Linked DNA regions of Homo sapiens: all the other regions are linked to region 1. The links are contacts of gene promoters, found by promoter capture Hi-C in blood cells and fetal thymus (Javierre and others, 2016). All regions are on one chromosome and are shown on one strand. The core of a region is centred on a gene start or on the middle of the fragment in contact, and the rest is flanking DNA. Distances in the headings are between cores, read along the strand shown.

Region 1 (6,182 bases), core at 1,573-4,072:
CACTCTTAAACTGCCATTCTCAATCTTTTTCCCCCTCTCAATCTTATTTTAAGCCACCTTGCTAAACGTTGGCTGTTTTAAAATCAGTCAAAAGATTTATCTTATTACCAAGTTTCAACTTAGAACTGTACATTCAGCTTATCTTTAAAAAAAAACCATGAAAAATAGTGACTAATACCTATTTCAAATTGTCTTTATTAAAACAGAAAATTCACATAAATCACAAAGCACAATATATAATTATGTTTTAATAATTCTGAGTGAAACTTTCATATTCAGAGCCATATCTGATTAAATATTAAATATAAAGATAACTTTCACATAACCAATAAAAACATAAGGTCAATTTCTACCGACACCATAAAAGTACTATCTGTCCTTTATAAACAACCTGTAACAAATCTCTCTCAGCAGTAGCCAAAAAACTGCTAGTATCAAACATTTAATTTCAGCACCTGACCAGAAATTGGTTTTACCTTTCCTCTCAGCAAATGTTACACAATTCCACCTGTAGGGTATATGATATCCTTTTAAAATGCAATTTAAGAAGCCATTACTTTTTTAGAGAAACTGCTGTTCCTCTTCAGAAAAAATGAGAGAGAATTTCAATGTGGACAGGAACATTTTAGCCTATCATTTAGAAAAAAATACAGTGTATTTAAAAAAAAAAAAAAAAAAAGCCACGTAGCAGTCCGTGGGCAGCATGAGTCATCATCCAACTCAAAACTTGCAGCAGCACTTGTAAGCTTCCTCCTACCCGACCCCCATCCCCTTCAGCAAAGTACCCTGAGTCAGCAAACCTTACTATTTTGTCAGTTATGATTCTCACGATGCTTTAAATGAATTTATGTAAAGCACTGCAACACTTTTAGTGCTAACATTAGTCTTTAGAATGTGTGCATTTTTTTATTACAAAATTAACTGACTTCAAATCACTCTTCTCTGGATTTTTTAATAACAGAAAGTAGCCAACGACTACTTCTAATCCTCTTTTGCAAATAAATGAATTCCAGAATATCCTCATATACGAAGTTTTTTCTAAAATAGTCTCCATTTTCCAGTGTTTTCTTCTCAACAGTAATACCTAGGTGATCAAATATGTTCTGCTCAAATCTGGCATATTTTCTAGATTAACTGCAATTACTGAATTCAGGACATCAATGAATAATTTTACAAGCTTAAGGCAATTCTTAATAAATGATGTAACATATGTGAAATGACTTTACAATCCCTGGCACATAGCAAACACTTCATAAACATGTTTGAACAACTACTATCTAAAGACAAAGTTCCTTTCACCCAATTCAAAATTATTTTTTAAACATTAAAATCTGATATTTCTATGAAGAAATTCCTGATTTCAGGGCCAGGCCCTGTTTGGACCCTACATTCTTCTGGTCAGATCATTCTTTCCATCTCAGTTTTCCAGCGTTAAAGAGGGAGGACATGTGCAATTGGAACTGTAAGAGACAGGCTAGAAGAATCAGCCATCAGAAAATTACTCTGAAGCTGCTTGCTCTTCATTGTATGGCGTGTTAATTTTTCCCCTTGACAAATCATCTGTATCCGTTAAAAAAAAAAAAGTCATTACTGAGACTGCATCTTTAGCAATGAACACGAATTCTGCCGTTAATACAAGTAGGCTTCTAATTCCAACTCACCAGTCCCTTTCACTGGACCTTTTCCAATGAACAAGCAAAAGAAAAAATAAAACAGGAAAGGAATCAAGAAGCTCCCGCTGCACAGAGATCCCCCTAACACCTAAACCGGTTGGGTCCTACACTCGCCAAGAAACAAAAGGATGCCAAAACACCTTTACTTTTCGACACAACTCACAAGGCGGACTAAAATGCACAGCAAAGTGACAAGGCCCTTTTTGGTGAACCGACAAAACAAGCTTTCATTTGGGCACTTTTACAGACCACCACTTAAGGTCCCGAAAGAAGCTAAGGAAAGACTGTAGGGCCGAGGGAGGAAATTAGGAATTTCGTCTCCGAGTTTTCAGTACCTCATTCATGGCAAGACTCAAAACTTGGGCGGACTTCAGGGCTCTGAGACGAGCCGGGTGAGCGCTGCGCGCTACGCCACTGGAGACTTTGCCCGGCCGGAGTCAGCTGAGGCCGAGTCACCGGGTGGGATGGGGGAGGAGACGCGGGAGCATTTCGAAAGGCAGCGTGCCAGTAAGGCGAGACTCCACGCCACCTCATGTTCCCCGGGCCGCCGCCCCTCGCTCGCCCGCCCTCCGGTCCGGTCCGGCTGGGTTTCGAACCCGCGGAGCCAGGCGCAGGCGGCGGGACGGCAGCAGGCGTGCGGGGCCAGGGAGCGGGCGCGGCCTGGCAGGGCGACCGGCGAGGGGCGTGCCGGGTGGGAGGGGCGCGCTGGCCGCCTGGCCGGCCCCACGCGGGGACCCCAGCCCGCCGCCCGCCCGCCCGCGCGGGGACGCGCCGGCCAGGCCCGAGCGGGCGGGCAGGCGGGCGAGCAGGGGGCGGGCGGCAGACCGAACAAAAACGCCTTTGTTGAGCGGCAGCCGCCGGAGGGTCACACACAATGGAGGAGGGAGCCGGCTCCGCCGTCGCCGCCGCCGCCGCCGCCGCCGGGCCCGCCGCGGCGCCCTCCCGAGCCGCCCCGCCGGCGCACCCCGCACACGTACACACACACACTCACGGGACTTCTCCGACTCATCGAGAGAGTGCGGGGCTCGCGGACTGCCCCCAGTGTCGGCTCAGGTCTCCGGCTGTGCTGGCGGCAGCGGCGTCTCCGAGGCTCTCGCTTTGCCGCAGTCGCCGCCATGTAACCCCGACCCGCGAGAGAGGGCGAGGAAGAGGGGGCGGGGCTTCGCGGTGCCACGCCCCCTCACGTCACAGGCTCACTCCACGGGTTCTCCCGCCCCCGCCCTGCCCAGCGCACCCGCACGCGCCGGAATTTCCAGCGCCCGTGACTGGGCTGCGCGCGCCGCGGAGGCGGTGGGAAAGGCACGCGGCTCGTCCGGCGTCTCCTGGGGGCTTTGCCTGCGGGCGGGCAGGGAGGAAGACAGCTGGGGCCGTTTGCTCTACTACCTGCCCTGGCATTAAGGGAACAAAGTGACCAAACCCAGTGCCAGCGTTTACTAAGCACCTACTACGTGCAAGGCACTGGGCAATCCGAGAGGAAGAGGCCTCAGTCTCCAGGAAGGGTGGACCTTAAGATGGATTGGCTGGAAGGCGACAGCCCGAGCACAAGACAGACGCGTTAGAGGCCAATACTAAGGTCATTCATTCTGCCAGAGTATGGAGGAAGGCTTTCAGGAGTGGTCGCCAAGGTGGCCTTTCAGCTGGATCCCGGAGGAGCGGATATAACCAGGAGGTGGGGAGGGTGTTTCTGTGAGCAAAGACTGGGAGGCCAGAGTACCTGGCTTGTTGCAGGAACTGGGATAGGACAATTTGAATTTGGGAAGGGATGCACTATGAAACGTAGAAAGGTGGATGGGTGCCTTCTTGGGCCCACTTGGCTAAAAGCAAACTTACATTACTTATCATGGCTTATTGAGTCCAAGGAGCCTTTTCAGTGTTTATGTGAAATTTAAGTATTTATGAAATTAGAGACGCAGGTCAGCATATTTTTTCAATGACTTCATCACCATCTTGCTGAGAACCAGACATAGAATAGCCCTTCTAGTCATTATTATGGGCATCTTCAAGAAAGAGGCAAAGACCACTTCAAAAAGATCACAAAGGGCCAGGCGTGGTGGTTCACGCCTGTAATCCTAGCACTTTGGGAGGCCGAGACGGGCAGATCACCTGAGGCCAGGAGTTCGAGACCAGCATGGCCAACATGGTGAAAGCCCCGTCTCCACTAAAAATACAAAAAGTAGCCGGGTGTGGTGGCTCACACCTGTAATCCCAGCTACTCGGGAGGCTGAGGCAGGAGAATAGCTTGAACCCCGCGGGGGGTTGCAGTGAGCCGAGATCGCGCCAGGACACTCCAGCCTGGGCGAAAGGGCGAAACTCTGTCTCAAAAAAAAAAATCACAGAGTAATGAAGTTAAGTGGTTGGGGTGAGCTTGAATGCTTTATATTTTTTAATATTTAAAACAACGTCAGCTGAGTACCAGGTGTGAAGAAGAGGTAATGAGTGAAAAAAACCAAGAGAAAGGGGAGACTTGTTCCAACCGCAGAATTTCCAGCTTCTGCAACGAGAGCTCGTACCTTCAGCCCCACTGCCTCTGCTCTAGGCTCTCCTCTGATCCTCAGGACATTTTTCCTCTCACTCTTTGAGAACTCGTTTACCTTCCTTTTCCATCAATGTCTGATCACCCAGAGAAGGTGGGAGAATAAATACCAAGCACTGTGCCTTCCCTCAAGGAGCATTTAATCCAGTGTCACTGCTGACTTCCTGTGGATAATGCAAAGTTGGCTTACAATAGTAAGGGAGACCACTAAATTGACAGAATCTTTGTAGCATTTCAAAAGGGTGTCAGGCCTCTGAGCCCAAGCTAAGCCATCGTATCCCCAGTGACCTGCACATATACATCCAGATGACCTGAAGCAACTGAAGATCCACAAAAAAAATGAAAATAGCCTTAACTGATGACATTCCATCATTGTGATTTATTTCTGCCCCAACCTAACTGATCAGTGTACTTTGTAATCTCCCCCACCCTTAAGAAGGTTCTTTATAATCTCCCCCATCCTTAAGAAGATTCCTTGTAACTCTCCCCACCCTTGAGAATGTACTTTGTGAGATCCACCCCCTGCCCCCAAACCATTGCTCTTAACTCCACTGCCTATCCCAAAACCTGTAAGAACTAATGATAATCCACCACCCTTTGCTGACTCCTTTTTCAGACTCAGCCCGCCTGCACCCAGGTGAAATAAACAGCCTTGTTTTTCACACAAAGCCTGTTTGGTGGTCTCTTCACACGGACACGTGAGACAAAGGGGAGGTCAAGGATGGAATAATTACAAGATTTGGGGGATCTGGTTTTTGTTTGTTTGTTTGTTTGTTTGTTTTTGAGACAGAGCCTCGGTCTGTCGCCAGGCTGGAGTGCAGAGTGGTGCAATCTTGGCTCACTGCAACCTCTGCTCACTGCAACCTCTGCTCAAGCGATTCCCCCGCCTCAGCCTCCCGAGTAGCTGGGACTACAGGTGCGCGCCAGCACACCCAGCTGATTTTTGTATTTTTAGTAGAGACGAGGTTTTACCATGTTGACCAGGATGGTCTCGATCTCCTGACCTGGTGATCCACCAGCCTTGCCCTCCGAAAGTGCTGGGATTACAGGCATGAGCCACCACACCTGGCCCAGGGATCTGGTTTAAGACTGGTTTTTCAGTGAGGGGTCCTGATTGGGTTTGGGACAAATTTGTGTTATAATAGTTTAAGGTGGGTGGGCAGAGGAGGGGGAGAGTTTTGAAGAGAGCCTAAAGGGATAAATAGTTGTTAAACTCAGTAGAACAGAGGGCTGTTTACCCTGATGAAGGCAAATTCTGTGAGTAACTTAATGAGATAAATGGATTTTAGGAAGTTCCTGAAACCACAATCAAGTTATTTGCAACTCCACCTTTTTAGGCAAGAGTTTCTTGGAATTCAAGTTATATTTATTGCAGATAGTTGAATTGTAAAGTCATGTCAATGTAGTTGGTTTTAGTTTTTTTGGTGTTTTTTTTTTCTTTTTTTGAGATGGAGTTTTGCTCTTGTCATCCAGGCTGGAGTGTAGTGGCACGATCTAGGCTCACTGCAACCTCCGCCTCCCGGGTTCAAGCAATTCTCCTGTGTCAGCCTCCTGAGTAGCTGGGATTACAGGTGTGCACCACATGCCCAGCTAATTTTAGTATTTTTAGTAGAGACGGGGTTTCACCATGTTGGGCAGGCTGGTCTCAAACTCCTGACCACCCGCCTTGGCCTCCCAAAGTGCTGGGATTACAGGAGTGAGCCACCATGCCCGGCCAGTTTTAGTTTGTGTGTGTGTGTGTGTGTGTGTGTGTGTGTGTGTGTGCGCGCGCGCGCGCGCGCGATGGAGTTTGGCTCTGTGGCCCAGGCTGGAGTGCAGTGGCAGGATCTCAGCTCACTGCAAGCTCTGCCTCCCAGGTTCAAGGTATTCTCCTGTCTCAGCCTTCCAGTAGCTGGGATTACAGGGCGCGCCACCACGCCCAACTAATTTTTGCATTTTTAGTAGAGAGGGGGTTTCACCATGTTGGCCAGGCTGGT
Region 2 (6,182 bases), core at 1,033-3,532, 400 kb after region 1:
AATATTTTAATCTGTAAGGTAGCCTTTTTTTTAATATAGTAAGGCAATGTGAAAAATTTACAACAGTGCTTGTTTGAGAAAAGTGTATGTATACATAACGTTTTAGAATCTCCTTAAAAGCTAGATGAAGTAGACATGTTTCTCAAGGAGATTGGACTCATCAGTCCTTTTTGAGAGTGGAAATGTTTAAACCAAGCCTTGGAGCTTCGTTTACTCATAGATAGACTCCCATAAATTGAGTTCTTTTTTAAAGAATGAAATTTATACATGGTCTTCCTTATAAGGAACTGTAGGCAGCCAGACCTTTATTAAATATATTTTGTAAACTGTTCTTCTTGATAAAACTGGAAATTCCGTAATGGTATGCTTTTTAGACAAGGAAAACCCTTTGATGTCTGCTTTCCAACAGTGTTTTTAAAACTGCGGAAAATAAAGCTTCAGCAAAACTGCAGAATCATTATGTAGCAGTGCATTCTGGAACAGAATTTATTTTTTGACGTTTTGTGATACATTAACCCCAGAAGATTGCTTTTTAGCCATTTTAATTTTTTAGTGTAATCCACTTGGCCTAGCTCCAGTTTAGAACGACCCCTTTTGTCATCTGTGTTTTATGTACATGTGACTTAAAATATTCATATAGAGCTGAGCTTTGTCTTCAAGTGTGTGGAGAATCTTGGTTTTTGGGGATAGAGAGAAGAAATTTCCCTGTTCCCCAGTAGTGCAGATAGGAAGTTCCTCAGGGTTAGAAGAGTGGGCCTCTTTCATCAAGAAACAAAGCTGGAATCTTTGGTTATATTTTCCTGCTAGAATGGTGGTGGTAGTTTTCTGCTTCCATCTAAAGTGGAGTGCTGTCTCACGGCAGGTCTGGTATGTAGAACTAAATAAACGGGTTCAGATGCAGCCTGGAAAAGCCTGTGTAAGAACTGTTAGTGCTGTGCAGGTGTGGTTATGCTGTAGGCCACTTGTGACCAGATGCTTAGAGTCATTTTCAAATCTTCTTGCACTTCCCTAATTCAGCGTTTCACGAAGTCTAGTTGACTCTGCACTGTCTACCAGATTTACTCCTTTTCATATCCTTAACCACCACCTTATTTTACAATCTTATTGGTATTAATATAAAAGCTTTCAAAACTGTCATGTCCGATAACTTCTTCATCCTCCACACCGCTGCTAGGATAATTTTCTTCAAGTGTCATTTTACTATATTACTCTTGGCTTAAGAATATGTAATTGTTTTTAATAGCTGTGTTAGGAAATGTAAACTTGTCAAGTATTCTCCATCTTTGACTTTATTTTTAATTATATGTACTCCTCACTTTGGCCCCTCTGTTACATACTGATCTTCTTACTCTAAACTGCATTTTTATGTTGCAACAAGACAGTCCTTTTGGGTTTCCAAATTCGACTCAAAATTTACGTGGTTTAGGATGCCTGCCTGTGACACTGTTATTTTGGTCTTTTGACAAATGTAAATACAAACCCATTTTGCACACCATCTCATTTAACTACCTTAGTTTTGAGCGCACTGATCCAGTTTTAATTTTGCCATGAACTAGAAATGATCTCTTGGGCTTTGTGAAAAACAGATTGAAAAACAAAACAAAACAAAACAAAAAACAAGCTGCTTTCAAGCAGTCTATATATAATCAACTAACAAATACTTAAGTTCCTATGTTTGTAAATATAGGAATAATAAATAGTAATAATAGTAAAATAAAATAAAGTAATATAATAGTAAAAATAAAAAGCAAGCTCCTCTTCATGGAGCCTGTCACTTGATTTTAGAGCAATCAGATGAAGAAACTTTAGTTCTGGATCAGATGATTAAAAGGGGGACCAGCCAGGACTTGGAATGAAGGTCTTGTGACTTCTCATTGTGTGGGCTTTTCTTGGTAGTATTTCCTTCTTAATATCAGAGTGCCTGCTCTGGAGAGGGTGTGTGGGTGCGTAGGTGGGTTAGTGGATGGATGGAAGGCCTCCCAGACATAGTGTAGAAGGAACTACTGTCTTGCAACTAACTCATGATTCTTAGCTGATGTTGTGTTTCATGGTAGCCTGAGAACCTTTTCAAAATACAATACATACTTTATTTCAGAGTCTAAAATTGATACATCTTTGAAGAACAGAATTGTTCTAAAAGGATTTTGAGTTTATGACAGTGTAATAATTGAAAGAAATGTGTGTTATATATTTTGCTGTGCATGGTGGGTGGCGTGATTGGTTGGCTGTGAATGACTACTTGATGTCGTGATGTCCCAATTTGTGCAATATTGACATGGTACTGCAGTCTGTAGTGGACAATCTCAGCTGATGTCTGTGGTTTTAGTGGTATCACGTAAGCTATGATGCTTTTCACTTGTGTTTAGGCAGTATACAGCTGTTTCCTTAAACATTCGATTGTGATTTCGTAAATGTAGCTGTAGATATCACATTTTAAAACATCACCTTTTGAACAATTTTGTTCTTTTCAGTGTAAGATCTAGGTTTTCGAAATGTTATCCTGCAATAAGTCAAATCTCTGGTAGTTCAAAGAGATGATCTTCTCCCGTGTATGAGCTTTATTATACTTTATTTTGCCTTTAAGACATTTCTTACTACCCTTCAGTGAATGTTTTGAGGGTTTATGCAACAGATATTGTAAATTTCTCATTATTTATGTTATTACTTTTCTGAAAGATAGTCCTTGGCTATTTTTTAAACTTTACTGCACATATTAAAATATTAATTGAAATAATGATCATACGTGATGATTTTTTAAATTAAAAATTCATTTGGCCTTAAGGCTTGCAGACTATTTTGAGATGTATAGGGGCAGTTACTATTATTCCAGTGTGACATGATTTCAACACATTGATCAAAGTTTACAAAAATTAGTAAGTCATTTGCACTCTTAGGGAATTTATAATATACTGGCAGAGATTAAAATGATTTATATAATTATAACATAAGGCAGATGGAAGAGATTGTAGTTGGGAAAACAAGAAGAGGTTTTATGGAAGAGTAAGGTTTGGAAAGATAAGAACAACAGAAGCAAAGGAATGGCATAATACGAAGGATAAATTATTGAGTGACTGTTTTCTTTGCAAAAGTTACTTTTTAATCACAGGACTTCTTCATTAAATAACAGACACTCTTAGAATGTTGAAAAAATATAATATGCAAACATTACCTGTAGCTTTTCAGGAAAACGTACCTGGTATTCTGACATTCAATTTTTTTTTTAAATTAAAATACCAACAAAAGGTTGGAAATAAATGGAAAACCATTCATTTAAAAATTAGAAAATAATGTTGTATAACCTCTTTTATGGCATTTAGATATGTCTTAACTCTATTGTAGAATAAAATTTCAGTCCTAGAGTTATGGTAACACCAAACCTTGAAAATGATCAACCAGTTTATACATTTAGCAAATGTTGAACACATAGGTGTGCTAAGCTTTGTGGGTATTAAAAAAAAAAAAAAAGAATTACAAGACATAGTCTTGATTTCAGGGAGTTTATTGAAGAAGTGTAGGAACCTGGTAGTCTAATACGAGAGTAAAAGACACATACCTAACCACAGTAGGCCAGCTGTGCAATATTACCAGCATTTAAGTGGGAATTCAGGAAGACTAAGAGAACTTTTGGCCAGGGGAATCAAGGGGTTGGTTAGAAACATGCTTCTGTACTGGCTGGTTATTAATGTGTTAACCTGTGCTGAGAGGAAAGTGAAAGACAGAAGTCAAGAATTTAGAATGGACTTGTTTTCTAAGAGAAATTGGCCTTTTTGTTCTTGGAGTGTAGCTTCTTGTTTGTTTAAACGGATACATTTAAAACCTTGTGGGCTTGGGCTTAGTGTCAACCAGTAAGTGAATATAGGGTTTATAAGTTCTTATGTCCCTGCGTAGATTGTTAATTAGCCTTCTTGCTTGTAGCAAGAAGACTCCTAGCAACTACTCAGAAACTCTGGTAAGGTTCTGAATAATGTCTTCCCCAAAAATGGGAGGTCAGAGACCAACTACTTGTATGGTGTTGGTGAAATCACTTAAACATGTTTAGGTCTTTGATCTGTAAAAGAAGTTCTTAAAGATATTCTTTAAGTATTTAGACCACGAATGAAAATTATATGGACTTCTCTAGAGATTTTCAGGGGTCAAAAGAGAAAATGGACTAGAAACATAAAGTGGTTGTGTTGAAGTTGTAGGTCTGGAGTCTTTATCGTATATTGCTTCTCACTTGTATTTACAAGACTTGATCAGATCTCACTTGTATTTACAAGATTTGATCAGACCTCACAGTCGGGGAGTCTGACCTCCTTTCTGGCTCAGTAGATAGGCCATTCAGAGCATTTATGAAGTAGTGGGTCTAGGAATGAGTCTTTGGGCTTACAGCTGAGGAGAAGCCTCTTGATTAGGTTTTGGTCCTTGGCACCTGGCAGATGATAGTTGCCTGCGACTGTCATAGTACAGTATTGGGTGGGAGATGGGACCAGTGTGATGGTGTTTAGGTTCTCCTTTCGCAGCTTTCCTTTTCCCGTGCAATGCCTTTATTTTAGTTTCTGTTCTTAGGATTTGGGCTATTTAAAATATTACTTTAGAAATTATAATCAGATTATCTTAACTTGGATCTTGGTAAATTTTTAGAACAAATCAGAGTCTCAGTATTTAATTATCTGAAAGAGCACAGGATGTTGGGTGACAACCATAATGGCACAGTAGAAAAACAAGTCATGCCTGACCAATTTAATTTCCTTCTGTGAAACCAAGGCAGTACTTAAAATGGGATATAATATAGAATATCTAAAATTCAGATTTAGTCAGACTTCTCTAGCTTGTCAGTTTTTTTTTTTTTTTTTTTTTTTTTAGATGGAGTCTCACTCTGTCACCCAGGCTGGAGTGCAGTGGTGCAACCTCTGCTCACCACAACCTCCATCTCCTAGGTTCAAGCGATTCTCCTGCCTCAGCCTCCTGAGTAGCTGGAATTACAGGTGCGTGCCACCATGCCAGGCTAATTTTTGTATTTTTAGTAGAGACAGGATTTCACGATGTTGGCCAGGCTGGCTTGAACTCTTGACCTCAAGTGATCCTCCTGCCTCAGCCTCCCAAGGTATTGGGATTATAGGCATGAGCCACTGCACCCGGCCATTTGTCAGTAATTTTTTAAAACAAATTTGGAAGCCAAATATTTCAGTAGAAGTTTTAGGGTTTTCAGTCCTTTCGAGTTTGTAGAATCCTTTTGCATTATGTTAGTGCTCTGAAACCCTGATCCATGATGTAACTTGGTATTGAGGGACAAGTACATCTTAACAAAGGTGACATGACTATATTCACTCTCTCTTAAAGATAGCTCATGTAATCCTGGAATTTGATGTAAATATGAAACCAGTTGCCTGCACTTCTTATTTTTGTGTGTGTGGGTTTTTGTTTTCTTAAATTTCTTTTTTTTTCGTTTGCCTGCAAGTTTTACTCTCAAATCCTCTCATTTCATGATTCCTGAGGCTTCCTTTAATGCTATCTACCCCTAGTCCTGAACACCTAAAAAATGTAATGGTTATCATTTATCTCTTTCAGATACAGAAAACAGAGTTAGGCCCCTCTAAATAATATACATGGTAATTTGGTGGGAGTGATTTTAGGGGAATAAATAATACCCTCTTAGATGGATTATCATTGGAGAGATGTTCCTTTAGGTCCACTGTCTTCTAAAAACTGAGCCTTGGGAGTAATAACATTTAATTTAATTCATACTAAATAATTGTTGTTTTCTTCCTGTGATTTTAGGAGAAACCCATTGGTTCGTACTAAATCAGTAGTGTTTTCTTCTTGTGATCTAAGGAGAAACTCAAAAAGTCGTAAGTGTGTTTTGCAAGTAAGCATAGATGGACACAAAAAACTCATAAACATTCTGGCTTAGACTCATTTCACAGATATATGTAGCTCATCCGTTAGCTGTAGTTCAAAAACAAAATTCCATACATTTTCTTAGGAGTAATGATTTTGGTTTTGTGCTAGCAACTTCTTCATATCATCTCTGGCCTTGACTGCATCCACACTTAAGAGGATCTAATCAGCAGGAGGTAATCATATTATCATCATGTACCTTTCCCATAATAACTCCCATCATTCCTTTTATGTGGATGAATAACCAATGTTTTCAGCAAAGGCCACTTCCTCCATTTAGGTTCTAAATTGGGTGTGATTTT
Region 3 (6,182 bases), core at 1,239-3,738, 370 kb after region 1:
TGTAAAAGTGTTCCTATTTCTCCACATCCTCTCCAGCATCTGTTGTTTCCTGACTTTTTAATGATCGCCATTCTAACTGGCATGAGATGGTATCTCATTGTGGTTTTGATTTGCATTTCTCTGATGACCAGTGATGATGAGCATTTTTCCATGTGTCTGTTGGCTGCATAAATGTCTTCTTTTGAGAAGTGTCTGTTCATACCCTTTGCCCACTTTTTGATGGGGTTGTTTGTTTTCTTCTTGTAAATTTGTTTAAGTTCTTTGTAGATTCTGGATATTAGCTCTTTGTCAGATGGTAGATTGCAAAAATTTTCTCCCATTCTGTAGGTTGCCTGTTCACTCTGAATACACATACATACTTCTTTATTAATTCATTTAATAACAAGCTATAGTACAAGGTCTAATAATTTCTGAATAGATCTATTCATAAATGATATTTTAAGATAATTACAATAATCATTATCTATAAAAAAGTGTGCAGAGGCTCACGCCTGTAATCCCAACACTTTGGGAGGCCGAAGCAGGCAGTTCCCTTAAGGTCAGGAGTTTGAGACCAGCCTGTCCAACATGGTAAAACCCCGTCTCTACTAAAAATACAAAAAAATTAGGCGGGCGTAGTGGCGGGCGCCTGTAATCCCAGCTATTCTGGAGGCTGAGGCATAAGAATCGCTTGAACCCAGGAGGCAGAGGTTGCAGTGAGCTGAGATCACGCCACTGCACTCCAGCCTGGGCGATAGAGCAAGACTCCATCTCAAAAAAAAAAAAAAAGTGATATTCATTGGTGACAAAGTCACAGGTACTGCTAAATACAATTGTGTTTTGTTGTCTATATTTATGACTGAAATGTTAAATTGCAGCTGATGCTTAGAGAAAATAGATGTATTTTTTTCCCCATCCAGCCATGTTCCAGCCAGCTGTCACACTATGTCATTCCTTTTTCAAACCCCTTAAATGGCTTTCTGTGTCACTTAAGTCAAAATCCTTACCCCAAGCAGATCTGGTCTGAAGTTCCCTTTCTGATTTCACTTCCTGCCATTTCCTACTAGTCTCACCCTCTCTCCCTGCCATCCAGCCACACTGGCTTCCTTCCAGTTCGTTGATCACAAGCCAACCACAGGCCTGACTCAGGGCCTTTACTCTTGCCATTATCTATTCCAGGGCGTTTTCCCCTTAGATAATGGTAGGGCTTGCTCCCTTATATCAGGGGTCAACAATCATTTTGCATAAAGAGCCAGATGGTAAATATTTTAGGCTTTGTGGGCCATATGGTCTCAAATCTGCTGTGATAATGCAAGAGCAGCCATGGAGAATAAGTAAATAAATGAGTGCGGATGTGTCCCAATAAAACTTTATTTTTGGATGCTGAAATTTGAATTGCATATAATTTTCCCATGTCAAAAAGTATTATTCTCTAAAAAATTTTTTTGTTAACTATTTTAAAAATATAAAAACCATTCTTAGCTCTCGAGCCACACAAAAACAGGTGTGCAGTCAAATTTGGCCCACTGTTCATAGTTTGCTGAACCCTGCCTTACATCGTTCAGGTCTTTGTTCAAATGTCATCTGTTTGGAGAGGTCTGCTTTGGCCACTTCCTCCCAAAAGCCCTTCCCTTCTCTTCTATTACTTTACCTGGCTTTATTTTTCTTCATTGAACTTCCTGGGCCCTAACATATTATATTTTTATTTGTTCATTTTCTGTATTCCTTCTAGAATATAAGTACCATGAGGCAGGGCCTTAGTCGTTTTCCTTGCTGCTATACCCCCATCAGCATGACAGTGCCCAGCACAAAGTAAATGCTCAAATACTTGTTGAATGAATGAATTAGTACTGGTCATCTCGCTGTGAATATACTTACCAGAATTATAAGTTTTCTTAAACTGTGGTGGCCAGAATTGAAAATTGTTTCCCAGTTACAGTCTGAATCAATGCAGAGTAGGATTTAAAAATGCTTATTTTAATGCAGTCATTTTTATAAACCTGTGTATTCAAATTGAAATTTTGGCAAACCAGATTACTCCAAAACTGTACTTGTGAGTGATGTTTTCTGAACCTATATCTAGTTCTCAATGTCTATATTGTTGGTTTGATTTTGTGCTTCAGTCTGCTTTAAATTCTTATAAATTTTGATTCTGTTAGCTTTCACATCAGCTATTCTGGCCATCTATAGATTTGACAATTATACTGTGTCTTCAGCCACACCTTTCAGACCAAGGCAGAGAGGAGGACTGACTCTTGTGACTCCTCCAGGTGGCCAGAACACCATTAATCCAGACATCTGGGATAAATCCTGCAGGTCACCCATTAGGCCAGGGTAATATCGAAGTCGTTCGTGCAAGAACTGGAAATGGAGGTACAGGGGGATTTCAGATAATTCAACTAAAACCCAAAAGCTGTGATATGCAAGCATATCCTTAAAAAGGGAAACGCCTAAGATTAATATTATCATGTCTAAATAAAATGGTGCTTTGTTGCAATGTCTATCACCCAAATTCATAAACTATATTCATACAATGGAGTACTGCTTAGCAGTAAAAAAAAAAACAAACAAACAAAATGCTGATACACGTAACAATGTAAATGAATTTCAAAAATATAGTGTAGAGTATAAGAAGCTAGACACAAAAGGATGCATAGTGTAAAATCCCCTGTATGTAAAGCTCAAGATCAGGTAAAACTAATCCCTGGTGGTAGAAACGAGAAAGCTATTGAGGTGGAGGTATTGGCCAGAAAGGGGGATGAGGAACTTTTCTGGAATGATTGATGGTTATACCAGTATATATATATTTATTTGTGAGAATTCTCCAAGCTGTTCACTAAAGATTTGTGTTTCTTTCTATATGTAAAATACATTTCAATATAGTATGACTTTTCAATAAAAAGTGGCTGGTTTTAGTCATTAGTTTCTTGTGGGCTTTGTAAGCATGAGGAAATTAAATTTCTGAGTTGGCCAGGCTGAAGTTAGAGTCTCATCAATGGTAAATTTGCCAAGGGATCTGCCGTTTTATAGAGGCCTGTGGGGGCCTTGGTCAGCATAATATTTTGGTGTGATAATCAGTAGGGATTTTGTCATATTTTTCACGGAAAGAAAATAAAAGATGTCTATGGCATTAGTTTTGCTGTTGAAAACTAGACTAAATAAATTTGACATGACTTGCTCTTGGTGAATCCTTGTTGGCTCCTGATAAATATATTTCTTTTTTAAATTGCCACAAATTGTGTTTTATTCTCCATTAAAGATTTTTCCAGGTTTACTAGTTTGTAGTTTTTGGTACCCACAACATTCTTTTTAGAAAATTAATACATTATTTGCCTGAATTAAACCTTCTGGCATTTCTTATTAAGAGGCAAGTTGGAGTCATAAAATGTATTTACTTTTTCATGGAATTGAAAGGAAACGTCCTAGGCAAGTTCATTAAGAATCCAAAGAAGATCTCTTCTTTTGAGGTAAGCAATCAAGAACAGTGATCAAGTAGTTTTGCTTCCCATTTAGATCTGGTTTGAATCTTAGCTCACAGATGTGTCACCTTAGGCAAGTTTCTTAACCTTTCCAAACCCCATTTTTTCTAATCTGTAAGAGGGATTGCTATGGCAATTACACAGGGAAATTTTTGTAAAGCACTTAACACAGCACCCGACACATAGTAGCTATCATCATCAACATTATCAGCAGTCTCATCCTCCTCATCTTCATTAACAGGAGCCAGCCCCTCTTGGATTGATTTTCCAGGGCAGTATTTTGTGAACCTCAGTAGAGTGCTCCATGGGCACTTGATTTTTTTCTGCCGACTGACTGACTGAGTTCAGAAGGATCAATTCACACATCAAATTCACAAGAAACTGCTTATTTATTCATTTGTAATGACAAAAGACAGCTGCATCAATATATTCTTTCCTTACACATATAATAGGGAAGCCAAATTATCTATGAAGGTGGTTTGATTAGTACAGGCTCATTGTTCCTTCCACTGGAAACACCCCTTTCCTCTTAGGCACCAAACTAGGTTACAGCTATAGACATGCCAATAGAATTGTGCTCACTGGAGATGACACACAGGCACCCATTTAGACCTTACTGCTGACTGTAAATGATCTTTGTGGGTAGATAATTAATCTTACCCATTACATGTTCATTTTTATCATTTCATTTTTGGAACCTCTATCTTGTGGGCTTTTGGGGGTACATCATTGTCTTTAATTGTTCATACTTCGTCTTTGACTAACTTCAACAATTTCTTCCTTAAAAACTAGCTCTGAAATACCATGCTTTATAGTTGGATAAGAAGGTAGTGAAAGGTGAGAAGTGGGGGGTTGAAGGATATAACTGTACTGTCTTTCTGTTCAAAATATCTTTCTGTGGCCGGGCATGGTGGCTCACGCCTCTAATCCCAGCACTTTGGGAGGCCAAGGCAGGTGGATCACCTGACATAAGGAGGTTGAGACCAGCCTGGCCAACGTGGTGAAACCCCCTCTCTACTAAAAATACAAAAATTAGCTGGTTTTGGTGGTGCATACCTGTAATGCCAACTATTCGGGAGGCTGAGGCAGGAGGATCACTTGAACTCAGGAGGCTGAGGTTGCAGTGAGCCAAGATCATGCCACTGCACGGTAACAGAGCAAGACTCCGTCTAAAAAAAAAAAAAAAAAAAGCCCAAAAAACAAAAACAAAAAAACCCAAAATGTCTTTGTGTATTTATATTATTTAAAAAATCATCAAAAATGTTCCAACTACATAGAGGTAATGTTAGAAAATAGGTAATAGCCGGGTGCAGTGGCTCACGCCTGTAATCCCAGCACTTTGGGAGACTGAGGCAGGTGGATCACCTGACATCAGGAGTTAGAGACCATCCTGACCAACATGGTGAAACCCCATCTCCACTAAAAATACAAAAATTAGCTGGGCATGGTGGAATGCACCCGTAATTCCAACTGCTGGGAAGGCTGAGGCAGGAGAATCACCTGAGCCCGGGAGGCAAAGGTTGCAGTCAGCCGAGATTACATCATTGCACTCCAGCCTGGGCAACAAGAGCAAGACTCTGTCTCAAAAAAAAAAAAAAAAGTAAATAGGTGATAATGGCTACTTTTTTTTTTTCTTTTTGACATGGAGTCTCGCTCTGTCGCCCAGGCTGGAGTGCAGTGACGCGATCTCAGCTCACTGCAAGCTCCATCTCCCAGGTTCACACTATTCTCCTGCCTCAGCCTCCCGAGTAGCTGGGACTACAGGTGCATTCCACTATGCCCAGCTAATTTTTGTATTTTTAGTAGAGACGGGGTTTCACCATGTTGGTCAGGCTGGTCTCGAACTCCTGACCTCAGGTGATCCACCTGCCTCGGTCTCCCAAAGTACTGGGATTACAGGCATGAGCCACCGCACCCGGCTATAATGGCTACTTTTATTGAGCAACCATTGTGTGCCAGATCCTAAGAATAGCCATATATTATTACATTTAGTCCTTACACTCAGAAATGTAGTTTTATTCTCATTATTCAGATGAAAACACTGAAGATCAGAGAAATAAACTGCCTAAGATTACACAGTGAGTAGCTGGCAGAAGCAGCGTCTGAACAGCCCTCTGATTCTACAGCCTGTGCCCTTTCCTCCACATTACATTCAGGAAACAAGTCCTGTCCTGTTTTTAAGATCATTGGTTCTTCAACATCTTAGTTTTGAATCACAGAAAAGTAGAGCATTAGGTAGACAGGATTTCATAAGAAAAACAATTTAATAAGATAAACAAATTATTGGACAAGATCATAGTACAGGATAAGATCTGATCTTGCTTTGGGAAGTTTGAGAACAGTCATTACACTACTTATGGTGACTGGGTTCAAGCCCGGAGATGTCTTAAATAAGTGAGTAAGTCAACGTCATTGATGTCCCAAATGTCTATGGATCTCACTCTCTGATAACAGTTTCCAGACTTTTGAACTTCAGAGATATAAATAAATAACAAAGTGGGAAAAGGAATAAAAATAACCTTGCAAACTTTTTTATTTTGCCCAGTAAGGATGTTTTTAAAAAAGTCACACTACTCTGTACTATGACCTTTGTTTCCATAAAGATTAAACATTTTAGCGCTCCTCTCCTCCCAAACTGGAAAAATATAATTTGAAAACAAAGGATTGTTCCTCCAAAGAAAGAATAGTTGGTAACCTTAGTCTCCATATATATTCCCCATTGTC
Region 4 (6,182 bases), core at 2,557-5,056, 310 kb before region 1:
AGAGTCTGTCCTCAAAGAACTTACAGTCTAATGGAGGAAAAATAGAGAAGTAAAAAAGAAAAATATGAATTATGATGATAAAGAAATAAGATTTTTAAAAACATCTCATGATTTCTATATGATGATGATGAAAAAATTCCTTGAGAAATAACCAAATATCAGTTGTTGTTATTATTTATATACAAATGGATCTTATCTTTTCTATTAGTGTGTTTATGTGTTTATTTGTTAAGAGTTATAGGTACAGGGATCTAGCAGTGAACAAGGCTAAAGCCAAACTCCTTTTTTTTTTTTTTTTTTTTTTTTTGGAGACAGAGTCTTGCTCTGTCGCTGAGGCTGGAGTGCAGTGGTGCAATCTCGGCTCACTGCAACCTCTGCTTCCCGGGTTCAAGCAATTCTCCTGCCTCAGCCTCCTGAGTAGCTGGGATTACAGGTGCATGCCACCATGTCCAGCTAATTTTTGTATTTTTAGTAGAGACGGGGTTTCACCATGTTGGCCAGGCTGATCTCGAACTCCTGAGCTCGTGATCCATCTGCCTCAGCCTCCCAAAGTGCTGGGTATAGGCGTGAGCCACCGCTTCCAGCCTAAAGCCAAATTTTAAGCTTATTTCAATGTTCTCACTGCTTAAGGGATTTTGAGACAGTCTTTGGAATAGCCTTCAAACCTGTGTGAACGGTTAATCATTTTCTCTCATTGTCATTCTGCATCTAATTCTTGCTTGGTTCAAACAGTGAAGATTCCCCATCACTGAGGATGTTCAAAAGAATCTATCATGATTAACTCCAAGTGTGGTTTTCATTCCTCCAACATGCCAGGTCTTGTCATAACTGCTCCTTCTGTTTGGTCATCCTGCTTCTCCTGGTTAAGTCCTGCTCAGCCTTTGAGACCAGAGTCATATGTCACATCCTCAAGAGTAGCCTTTCCTGATTACCCAGACAGACGTTATGGTTCTGCTCTCTGTGTACCACAATTTGGCCGACATCTTTTATGGTCTTCACTATGTCATATTTTTAGCAATTTTTCTGTTTGAATTACTGGCTTCCATAATAGACTCTGAGCTTCCTGAGCATAGAAAACATCTCTGTTTCCCTTTGCTTTCACAGCACCTAGCATAGTGTCTGACCTATCTCATAATCATTCCATAAATGTTTGTTGAGTGAATGAGTAAGTTTCAGAAATATTTATAACATGGCAACATGGACATTTACTTTGTAAAGGATATTACTCTGTTGGATGTACAAATACTGAAATATTTGTTTAGAAATCAGAAAGATTATTTTATAGTCACACTTTATATATAATCCTTTAGCATTACATGAGTCATATATTACATTAAAATTTGAGCCTCCACATCACACACTCACACACACATGAGCTATAATGTCTATTAGCAGAACTTAAAAATCTTTATTCAGAGAACTTTTTGCACTTTGCACCAATTATATCATGAGATGATAATCAGACAGCAGAGTATTTGTTTGAAAAAAACAGATTTTAAGTGTATTAACATGTGAGATTCTTTTTTTGTTCAACTCCTAATGATTCCTTTGCCATACTTTAGTAAATTTTGATAAACAGAAAAGCCATTCATTATTTTACATAATTTTTATTAGTTTTCTTTGATATGTATATTTTTTAGTTGAAGAGATGGGTTAGACTATTTTAAGATATTACTAATCTTAAGCCATTGTCAATCAGAAATCAACCTCATCATTTAAACTATCCAGACAGCTGTAAAGCCATAAGTAGCATTTGAGAATAGCAATTCATAGATCAAACAAAAAAGGCATTATAATAGTTCTTAAGAAGAGTTACATTTTGAGTTAAGTGATACATATCTAGAGGATGAAATGAAATAGATTTATGTGACTTGGGCACTTGCTGAGTGCAGTGTACCTGCTTCTACCCCAAATAAAGAGAATCAAGGTGACACTTTTCATCCTCGTATCTGCCTGTTACACAGAAAATACAGGCACCTTCTAATAACTAAACGTTGTCTTATACTTTTCTTTAAATGTATTGCAACACACTTAAATCCTTTTGGTTTAAAATAGCACAACTCTTGCCTCCTCCTACAAGCTACATTTAATTAAGGAGGCTTTTTAAAAAGCCAACAGACTTTTAAAAAAAATGCTAGCATATATAATTTTTGGCAGAAACTATATAGCTAAATGGAGAGTGTTTCAAAATTTGATCTGCTTTGTGCTATATTTTCACCCATCTTAATTTTCATGGAATCAAGAAATTAAGACCTGAAAGGATTCTAGAAATCAATTAGTTATTTCATAAGAGGAAAAAACTAAGGCCTGTAAGTGACCCATGGTTGCAGCAGGTGAGATGGCAGGACTAGAACACATACCTTCTAAGGGCCACTGATTTCTCTCCTTTGTGTCAAATTTTCCCACAGAAATCTTCTACTTATTAGGAATTCATCTGATTGTCTCAAACTTGAGATCAAGATCTTCCTGGTGCCAAAAGTAAATTTTTTTAAAACTTTCCAATTTTCTTTCCTTTTTGAAGACAGAAAGGTTCCCTCAAGTTTATAAAGAATCTAGAAAATGAAACTAGAGTCTTTTTTCAGGTCTTCCTAGAAGAATGGATCATTGGGCTCCTCAGTCCCTTTGTGCTGCTATAACAAAGTACTTGAGACTGGGTGATTTATAAAGAACAGAAATTTATTTCTCACAGTTCTGAAGGGTCAAGACACTGGCAAGTTCAGAGGGTCTGGTTTCTGCTTCCGAGATGGCAGGTGCCTTGTTGCTGGATCCTCTGAAGGGGACGAACTCTGTGTTCTTACATGGCAGAAGGTGGAAGGGCAAAAGGCTTAGCTAGTTGCCTCTTTATTTATTTATTTATTGAGATGGAGTTTGGCTTTCATCACTCAGGCTGCAGTGCAGTGGCGTGATCTCGGCTCACTGCAACCTCTGCCTCCCAGGTTCAAGCGATTCTCCTGCCTCAGCCTCCCAAGTAGCTGGGATTACAGGCATGTACCACCATGCCCGGCTAATTTTTTGTATTTTTAGTAGAGATGGGGTTTCTCCATGTTGGTCAGGGTGGTCTTGAACTCCTGAACTCAGGTGATCTGCCTGCCTTGGCCTCCCAAAGTGCTCTGATTATAGGTGTGAGTCACTGTGCCCGGCCAACATTTTATTTTAATTAGTAGATAATATTGCAAAATCAATCAAGGTTATGTTGAACTGACATCTAAATTTCATTTGTGAGCTTTGCAAAGACTTAAGTCCCTAGGGAGAATTCAGAGGCAGAGAGAAAGTTTTTAGTGAGAGTATGGCACATTCTATCTGACATTTTTATACAGTACCAAAAATATCCTGGTTAGAGATTTTGCAAAAGGAAGGTGAAGCTTCCTTTTAAAACATAAACTTTCTTAGTAAAAATATCCATTGTATTTCACAAATTCTGAGATGCAGTGTTTCCCATTTCAACATCTCTGAAATTGGGGTGTATCTTACAATTGTTGATGGGTTATAGTTTAGTTGGCAATTTTTTTAGTGTTACATAAAATACTGTATTTCATAACCGATAGCATCATAGATTTGATAAATCAGTGGGTTTAAAATATGCTCTTTGGGTTACATGGAGTCCAAATATGTGCATTTATTGATAAACCTAGTATGTTGAACTTGTTTTCTCCCAGTTTCCCCTTTTGGAATTGTACATGCGGCTTAAAAGTTACTAGTGGCATAGATGGCAGGGGTTTTATAATTTTGTTTTTTACATGCAGCTGCAGGTTTATGATCTGTAGAGGCCACTGTGTGCTGCTTCAGAGGTCCTTGTGGTGTTGTGTTTAAACTGACACCAGAAATTATGTAAAACCAAACAGTTTGAGTCTCCTTTTCTCTTGCATGGAAGAATATACTTTAGAGTTAGTCCCGTGGCTTTCATACTGGATCATGCATATGAAAAACTAGATTATGGGAGATGGCCGTAGCCCTGATCTGTCCAATCACAATCTGACCACTCTTTAGATATCATAGTGTTGCTGGATGGTGGTGACTTCACCTAAACCAGATTTTCAGCGCTGATAGTCCCAGTGTGTGCTGCTGCAGCATGAGGTGGACGGTGTGTCACCAGGCTCCATGCCACATAAGCAAGAGCACTGGCAGGTACTGATGTTCTCTGTGATAACCTCTTCCTGTGGGACTGGCTTCTCAGAACTAACCCAGGAAATTACCCAGAGTGACACAAGAAGCACTACTGACACCTCGTGGAGTCAGCAATATTAAGCTTTCTAATGTTTTTGCATCTGATCTGCATTTTGTTTGACAGCAATCTCAGAACTCAAACTTAATCTGCCCTTAAACAAATCTCTTAACCACTCTCCCTCCCTGTAGATAAAAGGATAAAAAACCTGGTTACTAGCGTGTATCTCCACAGTGGCTGTGGTAACTCATATGTCCCTTTACTTTTTGTTGGATTTCCCACTCAAGTCTCAATTTTGAGATGAAATTGGAGACTTTTTTTTTTAACCTTTAGCATAATTCTCTAGCTGCTGCCCTTGACAATAGTGACTATTTTTAACATCTGAAAGCATTGTAAACCAGTGGTTGTACTTCATTGATTGCAACTTTATAAGTAGAATTTTTAACATTATATTAAAAAGAAATAAAAAATAATAACATTTAGGAAATCATACTACATAGAGATAGTTTATCTGTTCATGATTTCTCTGGGAATGAGGATGGCAGGAGAAAATTAGGTCTTTGCCATATGAGGCCTTTGTGAAAAATAATACATTTTGGACCAAGTGGTATGAAGAAACACTCTTCTACCAGCTATCTGTATGTGTTTTGAATTGATTGTAATGATACATTTAAAGTAAATGTTCTTTTGCTTTTAATGGCTAAAGTCATTGAGCCAAGAGCAAGGGGGAATTGTTTCTGCTCCTTCTGCCCCTTTGTAGGATATTGATTGTTCCTCCTGTGAATTAAAGTCAAAATATGTTTAACCATTTCTGATTAGTATCAATTAATTAACAAATCTGTTAAACCACTTACTTTTTGGACATTTAATCTTATTAAAAAGTAAGCCTTATTACATAAAAAAAAGTTTTGAGTCATGTAAGGTTATTTGATGTTAATTTACAGTTAGGCAGGAGTGGCTTTCAGAGTAAGATGACCATATAATTTTGCCATCTGTTCACCCAATTTTAACAGAAAAAAATTATTTTAAGAGAAGGCAATTAAGTGGCAAATATGGCAAGTTTCGGTTGTTGTAGAATGCATTCAAAATTATAGGAACTTGGAGACCTCTCATGTTTTTTATATGGAAAACATTTTCTCCTCCTTTCTTACTTCTCATAAAGTGGGCCAGATGGAGAACATATCCCCAGGACAGATCATTGATGAACCCATCCGACCAGTCAACATTCCCAGGAAAGAAAAGGATTTCCAAGGGATGCTGGAATACAAGAAGGAGGATGAGCAAAAACTTGTTAAGAACCTGATTCTGGGCAAGTATTTTCTGCATTGGATAAAAGTTCCTTCTGGCACATGGGTTAATGGTGGGAAAAACTAGTCACTAATTTTTGAGATATTCAGCGTAGGTTTCATTAGTCATCATCAGATACCATGTATTCTAGTGCTGCAGTAGTGTTCTGACCACACCAAGCACTTTCAGTCCAACTGCAGGGACACATGCCTCAGACCCACCTACAAGGATTGCTCAAGATCAGGTCTTCTCAGCCCTGGCTGCACATTAGAATCACCTGGAAGCTTTGAACCATACTGATGTATCTCTCTCCCTCTTGCCCAGTTAAATCAAAATCTCTAGAGAGAAGAGCCTGGCAATGTCTAGTACTTTAAAAAAAAAAAAAAGAAAAAGAAAAAACCCTCAAGGCCAGCCTCGGGAAAATAGCAAGACCGCATCTCTCCAAAAAAAAAAAAAAAAAAAAAAAAAATTACCCAGGCGAGGTGGTACATGCCTGTAGTCCTAGCTGCTCAAAAGGCTGAGATGGGAGGATCATGTAAGCCCAGGAGTTCAAGACTACAGTGAGCTGTGATTATACCACTGCACTCCACCCTGGGCTACACAGCAAGAGTCTTTCTCAAAAATAATAAAAAGCTTCTTAAGGGATTCTCAAGTGTAACCACAGTTGAGCACAACTGCTCTAGGCCGTTTAGGTTCCTGAATTTCAGTTTTTCCTTACTCCCCTAGAAAGGTT
Region 5 (6,182 bases), core at 1,889-4,388, 280 kb before region 1:
CACTGAAAGTGGCATGCAGCTGAAAACACAGGAATTGGTTGAAAATCTGTTTAAATAGCAGTTCAAGTGGACTTGAACAGACATTTCACAAAAGAGAATACCAAAGTGGTCAATAGTCATCATAGAAATAAATGCAACTTGGACCCACAGTGAGACATCATAACACACTCATCAGAAAGGCTATTTTTTAAACTGACCACATCAAGTGGTGAGGATATTAAGCAACTAAAAGTCTCACACACTGCTGGTAGAAGTATACATTGATATAACAATTTTTTACAAATCTCTTTAGCATTATCCGTTAAAGTTGAGCATTACATACCTGTGATCCAGCAATTCTGCTCTGTTTATGTGCCCAACAAAAATACATATATTTGTGCATCAAAAGACACATATAAAATGTTCATAGCAGCATTATTCATAGTGGGTGTAAACTGAAGCAACCGAAATATTTATCAATAGGAGAATGAATAAATTGTAGAATATTTATACAATGGAATACTACTAGACAGGAATGAAAGACCTCAAACCGCAGCTACATGCAACAAGATGAATAAATACCATGTAAAAAGCCAAATGCAAGAGTTACACATGTGATTCCATTTATTAAAAACATCCAAAACAGGTAAAACGCATCTATGGTGATACAAATCAGAACAGTGGTTATCTTTGAGAGAAAATGATTTGAAGAAACAGAGAAAGTTTTGGGATATCGGTAATGTTCTACGTCTGGATCTGGGCGGTGGTTACTTTGGTGTGTTGATGTGTTCCATGAATAAGAATATATTGAGCTGTACACTTATTATTTGCACACTTTTCTGTATATAATTTTATTCTTCAATAAAAATTTTCTTTAAATAAAAAAGGCAGCTAGATTCTCTTTTTAACTCTGAGCAATCAGGCAGCTGTCACTACTCACCTTATAGATTTTCTTTTTCTTTATACAAAATAGAATTATTTGGGCAATAATATAAATAATTTTGTATATAAATAAATGCAAAATTAAATTTACCATGATCCTCTCTTTGTGGCATTTATCATTATTGATCCATGCCAGGCCTCTCTTTATATTTTTTGATCCCCTTTTTGAAATCTCCGATTCCATTTCTCTCCCTCATAGGTATCCACTCTTGCATATTTAATGAATGACTTTGTAATTTATCCTCCTTACCTCTATTCACACATACTTGTACCCATGAACAATATTCAGTATTGCAGTTTTTGTGAGTTTTTAAATATTAAAGACTTGGGCTAGACATCTATTCAACATTGTTTTTTATTTCTGAGTCAAGTAGATCATGTCTATTCCTACTAACAGCTGTAGAGTTTTACATGTATATACTATTTCTTTTTTTATTTTTCTCTGCTGTCTGCCATGTATATACTATTTTATTTATTCCCCTATTGATATTTAGATGCTTCCAACTCTTTGATAAATAACTATGTTGTGATGAACATCTACTTAACTGTCTCTTTGGGTGACTGTGAGAATTTTTCTGCCTACATTTATTTTCATAACTATTCTCAAATTGCTCTCCAGGATGGCAGTATATTCCCACCAGTTATGTAAGCAAAAAAAGTTTTTATTTTTTTTATTTATTTTTTTTTTTTTTTTGAGACGGAGTCTCGCTCTGTCGCCCAGGCTGGAGTGCAGTGGCGCAATCTCGGCTCACTGCAGGCTCCGCCCCCTGGGGTTCACGCCATTCTCCTGCCTCAGCCTCCCGAGTAGCTGGGACTACAGGCGCCCGCCACCTCGCCCGGCTAATTTTTTGTATTTTTAGTAGAGACGGGGTTTCACCGTGTTAGCCAGGATGGTCTCGATCTCCTGACCTCGTGATCCGCCCGCCTCGGCCTCCCAAAGTGCTGGGATTACAGGCGTGAGCCACCGCGCCCGGCCAAGTTTTTATTTTCTCACATCCTAGGCAGTATCTGAGATTGTCTAACCTAAATGTTTTTGCCAATATGATGGGTAAAAAGCAATATCTCATTGTTGTTTTCATTTGTATTTATCTGATTACTGCTAAAGTTGACATCTCCTTGTATGCTAACAAGCCATTTAAGTGTCCCCATCTGTGAATTGCCTATTAATTTTTGTCAGTTTTAAAAATTGGATTTCTTTTCTTTAACCGATTAACAATTCTTCTATATGGAAACTACTATAACCCAACATTTTAAAGATATTATCCCTCTTTTATTCCTAATAATTTCCCGGTTTTAAGTTTTAATCGTGAATCCATCTGGAGCTTATTTTTGGATGCAGTGTTTGCCACGGATCTGCTTTTATTGTTTTTCCATATAACGGGCCCATCTAATAAATATTATTTTATTTCCCTATCTGGTCCTTAAGGCTACCGTATAATGTAGGGCCCTGCTGGGGGGCTCCAGCATGTTCCATTACTCACGTATCCGTTCTCACGCAAGTGTCACACTGTTTTAATGACTACTGCTTTGTTATGTCCCTAAATATATGGCAGGACAAATCTCTCCTCTTTGAGAATTGTCTTAGTTATACAGGGCTTTTATTCTATATGAAATATAGAATCATTGTACAATTCTCCAAAAGTTCTGTAGGATTCTGACGCCAATATATTAGGCATATATATTGATTTGGGTAGAAGTGACACCTTGACCATATTAAATATTCCCAGCCAGGAAAATGGCATGTCTCCCGTTTACCTGGGCCTTCTTTTAAGCTCTTTAAGAGAATTTTAAACATTTTCTCCACAAAGGCCAAGGGCATTTTTGCGAGTGTAATCTCTGGATACTTTATATTTTCACTAATATTGTAAATATCTTGTATTGCATAGACAATGCTCATATAAAGGACCATTACTTATTTTTGTATTTGATTTTGAATACGATGACCTTGCTGGACTCTTAACACATTTCTTTGTGTTCAGTACGTTGATTCCCTTGGGTCTTCCATTTAAATGGTCGTATCCTCTGCTCTTTGAGGAGCTAACACTCGGGCCGGGCAGCCTCCGGATGCATCTGTTCCTGCCTGGCAGCGCGCCCCGGGCCCCAACCTTCTCCACCCGCGCTCCCGCCAGGTGCAGCCGCCCGGCCCCGGCCAATGGCAGCGCCGACTAGCCGGGCCAAGCTTGGAGGGACCAATCCCGCCGCTGCCCCCTCCCCTCGCCGCCAACTCGGGAACGGGAACAGGAGGCCGTTGGAAAACTTTGGGCAAGATGGCCCGGCGGTGATTTCCGCGGCGGTCTCTCCTGCGCCCGGCCTCTGCGGCGCAGGCCCAGCCCCCGAGCCTCGCACGTTCGGCAGCCCCGGCCTGGCCCCGGCCCCTCCTGCCCATGGCGGTGGCCGAGCTGTACACGCAGGTAGGAGGGTCCGCTGGGCTCCTGGGAGCGCTGTGGGGGAGCCGGCCCTGCTAACGCTGACTCGACCTGGCGCCCGGGCCACACCTGCCACACCTGCGCACCTGACACGGCAGGGCGGGCGGGCGCGCGCTGGGGGCCGCGGAGGCGCCGCGGAGGGGCCACGGGGACCGGGGACACGAGCGAGCGTCGCCCCTCCAGGGCCCCGGCGTGCTCCGTCCCTGCCCGCGGGTAAGCCCCCTCCTGGCTCCGCTGCGCCTGGGTGCCCTGTGGGTGGGAAGACCCTGTGGGAGGGGCCGCCCCCTCCGCCGCTCCGGCCTCGGGGCCTAGAATCCCCAGTGCCCAGGGGTCGCGCGTGCGTCCCCATCTCCCGGGACTGGAGCGCCTCGGTCCCTTCCTACCACACCACGGGTGGAATCAGAGTTGCCCATGCGGACGTAGGAAGCTGAGACGCCGGCCAGTCTCCTGGCCCCTCCTGGGACCCCCTTGAACGAGCTGGCATAGAAGCTTATGGCCGCAGTGTTCGGGCTGCTTTCTAGAATTCTGTGTCTTCAAAGTGCGTGAACGTGCATGTAGGCTCATCAGAAGCTGAAGCAGCCTGGGTCACAGGCTTGAGGGCACTGCAGTGGCACCAAGCGCTTGGGGAGCCCAGGGGCCACGAGGTGCAGTCGTAGGCTCTTTGCCTAACATCTGTACTGTTAGCAACAGTACAAACACCACAGTTTCTAAAGCGCCTTTCATATACCCTGACTCTGGGAAACACTAGAGCATTCCTCAGAAGCTTCCTTTCTGCTGGCTGGGGCTCCACCTCTTACCTCGGAAGGGCAGCGTTCCCACATATGTCCCAAACCCTCTGAGATGGGCTTGGGTAATTATTTGGATAAAGAGTGTGACAGTGTTAGCACTTTTGAAAAAAAAAATCCATTTGAATAGCCATAAAGCCTGATCCTCCTATACACCAGTTGGGGAAATCTAGAGACCTCAGTATTCAGACGAGTGGAACTAGAATCCATCCATTTCCCCGGACACATGCTCTAGCTTTCTACTTTAAAAGATGCTTTTGCTGTAGATAGAAAAGATAGTTATTTAAAAAATCATGTTTCAATGGTTTAAGCAAACGTTTTTCTTCTACTTTGATTACTTAGTAACAGTCCGGACACAAAGCAACCGAACTGTAGTTTCTCCTCTATTGCATCTCCATTAACTGGAGTTCTAAATGGACAGTGTTTGAATTGCCCTAGTTTTGTTCTAGAATATTTTCACCAGTGAGACTGTGAGCCCTCAGACAGCCAACAGCGCTTCTTCAGCCTTCAGTTTACTGGAAGTGAAAGAAAAGTCTTGGACTAGTCTTCGACGATACTTTGGAGGACAGAGAAAAATGCTGCTGCTGAACCTATTTGAGGTGACAGTATTTCCAGAAGCAGAAACACACAGGTGCAAGCACCCCTATTTTTAGGTGCCTCAAACCTCAGATATTTATTAAATGTCTAGTAAGTACCAGGCACAATGTAAGAAAACTGATAGGAAGGAGTTTAAAGGTACAAGCTTGGAGGGAATGAGAATCTGAGAATCCCAGAGACTGACGCAGCCTGATGGCCATTCCCACTGACCTTGTGTCCACGTAGACACCTGTGTTCCTAGGCTGCCACCTCCCTTCCTGGTGGGCAGTTAGCCCCCATTTTGTCTGTTCTGGAGGTGTGAAGGGGAGGGCCATGGCAGCCAGAGAGCGAGGTCAGGGCTTTATTCCCCAGTGTGGGTTTTGAGTGGGGGCTGGCAGAATCAAGGGTGGTGTGTTAGGACTGTTAGATTTGTTATGTATGCCAGCAGCGCCCTTGGGCTGTGGAGGAGAGAGGCCGGGGTCACGTAGCTGAATTCTCAGGTCATTCCAGCTGTTGGAAAAGAATTAGAGCTGCAGTGTTGGCCATGGAGGGTGGAGGCAGGTGAGGCTGAGAGGCTGGACTGGGGAGTGGGGTGGGGGTTGAAGGGACCAGCCAAGGATGACATTTGAGGTTAGAGTCTGTATGAGAGACAGCAGGGTGGTGCCCTTGAGTGAATTAAGGATGTGGCATGAGGAGGAAATATTTCTTAAGAAAGTCATCAGGCAAGTTCTGTATTTGCAGGGGTTGAAGGGGTGAGGGGGCTTCCAAGGGAAGGTGCCTTGCAGGGTGGGAGGTGTCAGAGGGAGGGGATGGGCCCTGCCGAGGGTCTTCTGCCCAGAGGTGGTCACTGAAGCCAACAAGACACTGAGGGTCTCACCAAGGTGGGAGAAGGCAGACAGAGAAGAGGGTGAGGGACAGGCCAGCGGGGAATGCATCTGTGCAAGGAGTGAGAGGAAGCAGAAGGGCTGAGATGGAGCCATCCAGAGGAGGAGCTAACAGGGGAGCTGGAAGCCACCCTGTGGGAACAGGGAAGAGGGAACTCCAGGAGAAGTCTTGGTGAGGGGAGCAATCGCTGCCAGGTGAGGTGTAAAATCATCCATCTCTTTTGAAAAGCTACAGGTGCCATGCCTTAGAAATGTTCAGAGCAGCAGTTCCCCTATTTGAAATCTCTCTTAAGAAGAGCCGGTCTGGCATTCTCTGCTCTACCACCTCTAGAGGCTCCCATTGCTTTCAGACTCACTGACCAGCCACGAGGTCCTGCCTCTCTCCCTGCCTTCCTGCTCTTACCTGGCTCATGCTCTGCCAGACTCCTTGCCATTCCCTCAATGCCTTGCTTGCACGTTGCCACTGCGTGCCTTGGCACACGAACTCCACCTGTCTGAGCCTCTGTCTGTCACCTTTGCTCATGGCACCTGCACCTTCCACCTTCAATTTGAGCAGGACCTCTTCTGAGAAAGCCTCTGCAGCTAGCCCC

Evidence for each region. Contacts are between HindIII fragments. The CHiCAGO score rates a contact against its expected background, and 5 or more counts as called.
Region 2: a fragment that was not itself captured here is called in contact with the fragment with the promoter of MAPK6 in region 1 in 1 of 17 cell types (monocytes); the score reaches 6.9 in monocytes.
Region 3: a fragment that was not itself captured here is called in contact with the fragment with the promoter of MAPK6 in region 1 in 1 of 17 cell types (erythroblasts); the score reaches 5.3 in erythroblasts.
Region 4: a fragment that was not itself captured here is called in contact with the fragment with the promoter of MAPK6 in region 1 in 1 of 17 cell types (naive CD4 T cells); the score reaches 5.6 in naive CD4 T cells.
Region 5: the fragment with the promoter of MYO5C here is called in contact with the fragment with the promoter of MAPK6 in region 1 in 2 of 17 cell types (total B cells and naive B cells); the score reaches 7.1 in total B cells.

Annotation. Positions count from the first base shown.
Region 1 is chr15:52,015,859-52,022,040 of GRCh38, reverse strand. MAPK6 (mitogen-activated protein kinase 6) reads right to left here and starts at 2,822. Exons shown (of 6, transcript NM_002748.4): 1 at 2,665-2,822. It overlaps MAPK6-DT (MAPK6 divergent transcript), which reads left to right and starts at 2,946. Exons shown (of 2, transcript NR_156732.1): 1 at 2,946-3,342. RefSeq lists enhancers at 1,762-1,811, 3,152-3,221 and silencers at 2,062-2,571, 2,872-2,981. The HindIII fragment of the contact is 8,244 bases long and covers 1,900-6,182 here.
Region 2 is chr15:51,615,597-51,621,778 of GRCh38, reverse strand. All of the region lies in intron 1 of DMXL2 (Dmx like 2), which reads left to right. Among named protein-coding and RNA genes, the nearest start is that of DMXL2, 4.1 kb to the left of the region's middle. The HindIII fragment of the contact is 2,315 bases long and covers 1,125-3,439 here.
Region 3 is chr15:51,642,314-51,648,495 of GRCh38, reverse strand. The region is part of intron 2 of LOC105370816 (a long non-coding RNA gene); the gene reads left to right. Among named protein-coding and RNA genes, the nearest start is that of DMXL2, 23 kb to the right of the region's middle. The HindIII fragment of the contact is 8,710 bases long and covers 1-6,182 here.
Region 4 is chr15:52,329,642-52,335,823 of GRCh38, reverse strand. It overlaps MYO5A (myosin VA), which reads left to right. Exons shown (of 42, transcript NM_001382347.1): 35 at 5,325-5,471. Among named protein-coding and RNA genes, the nearest start is that of MYO5C, 37 kb to the right of the region's middle. RefSeq lists an enhancer at 3,947-4,076. The HindIII fragment of the contact is 884 bases long and covers 3,365-4,248 here.
Region 5 is chr15:52,292,760-52,298,941 of GRCh38, reverse strand. MYO5C (myosin VC) reads left to right here and starts at 3,138. Exons shown (of 41, transcript NM_018728.4): 1 at 3,138-3,332. The coding sequence starts at 3,306. It overlaps LOC105370819 (a long non-coding RNA gene), which reads right to left and starts at 4,058. Exons shown (of 4, transcript XR_932250.3): 1 at 3,731-4,058. RefSeq lists a silencer at 3,315-3,474 and enhancers at 4,916-5,085, 5,959-6,008. The HindIII fragment of the contact is 736 bases long and covers 3,103-3,838 here.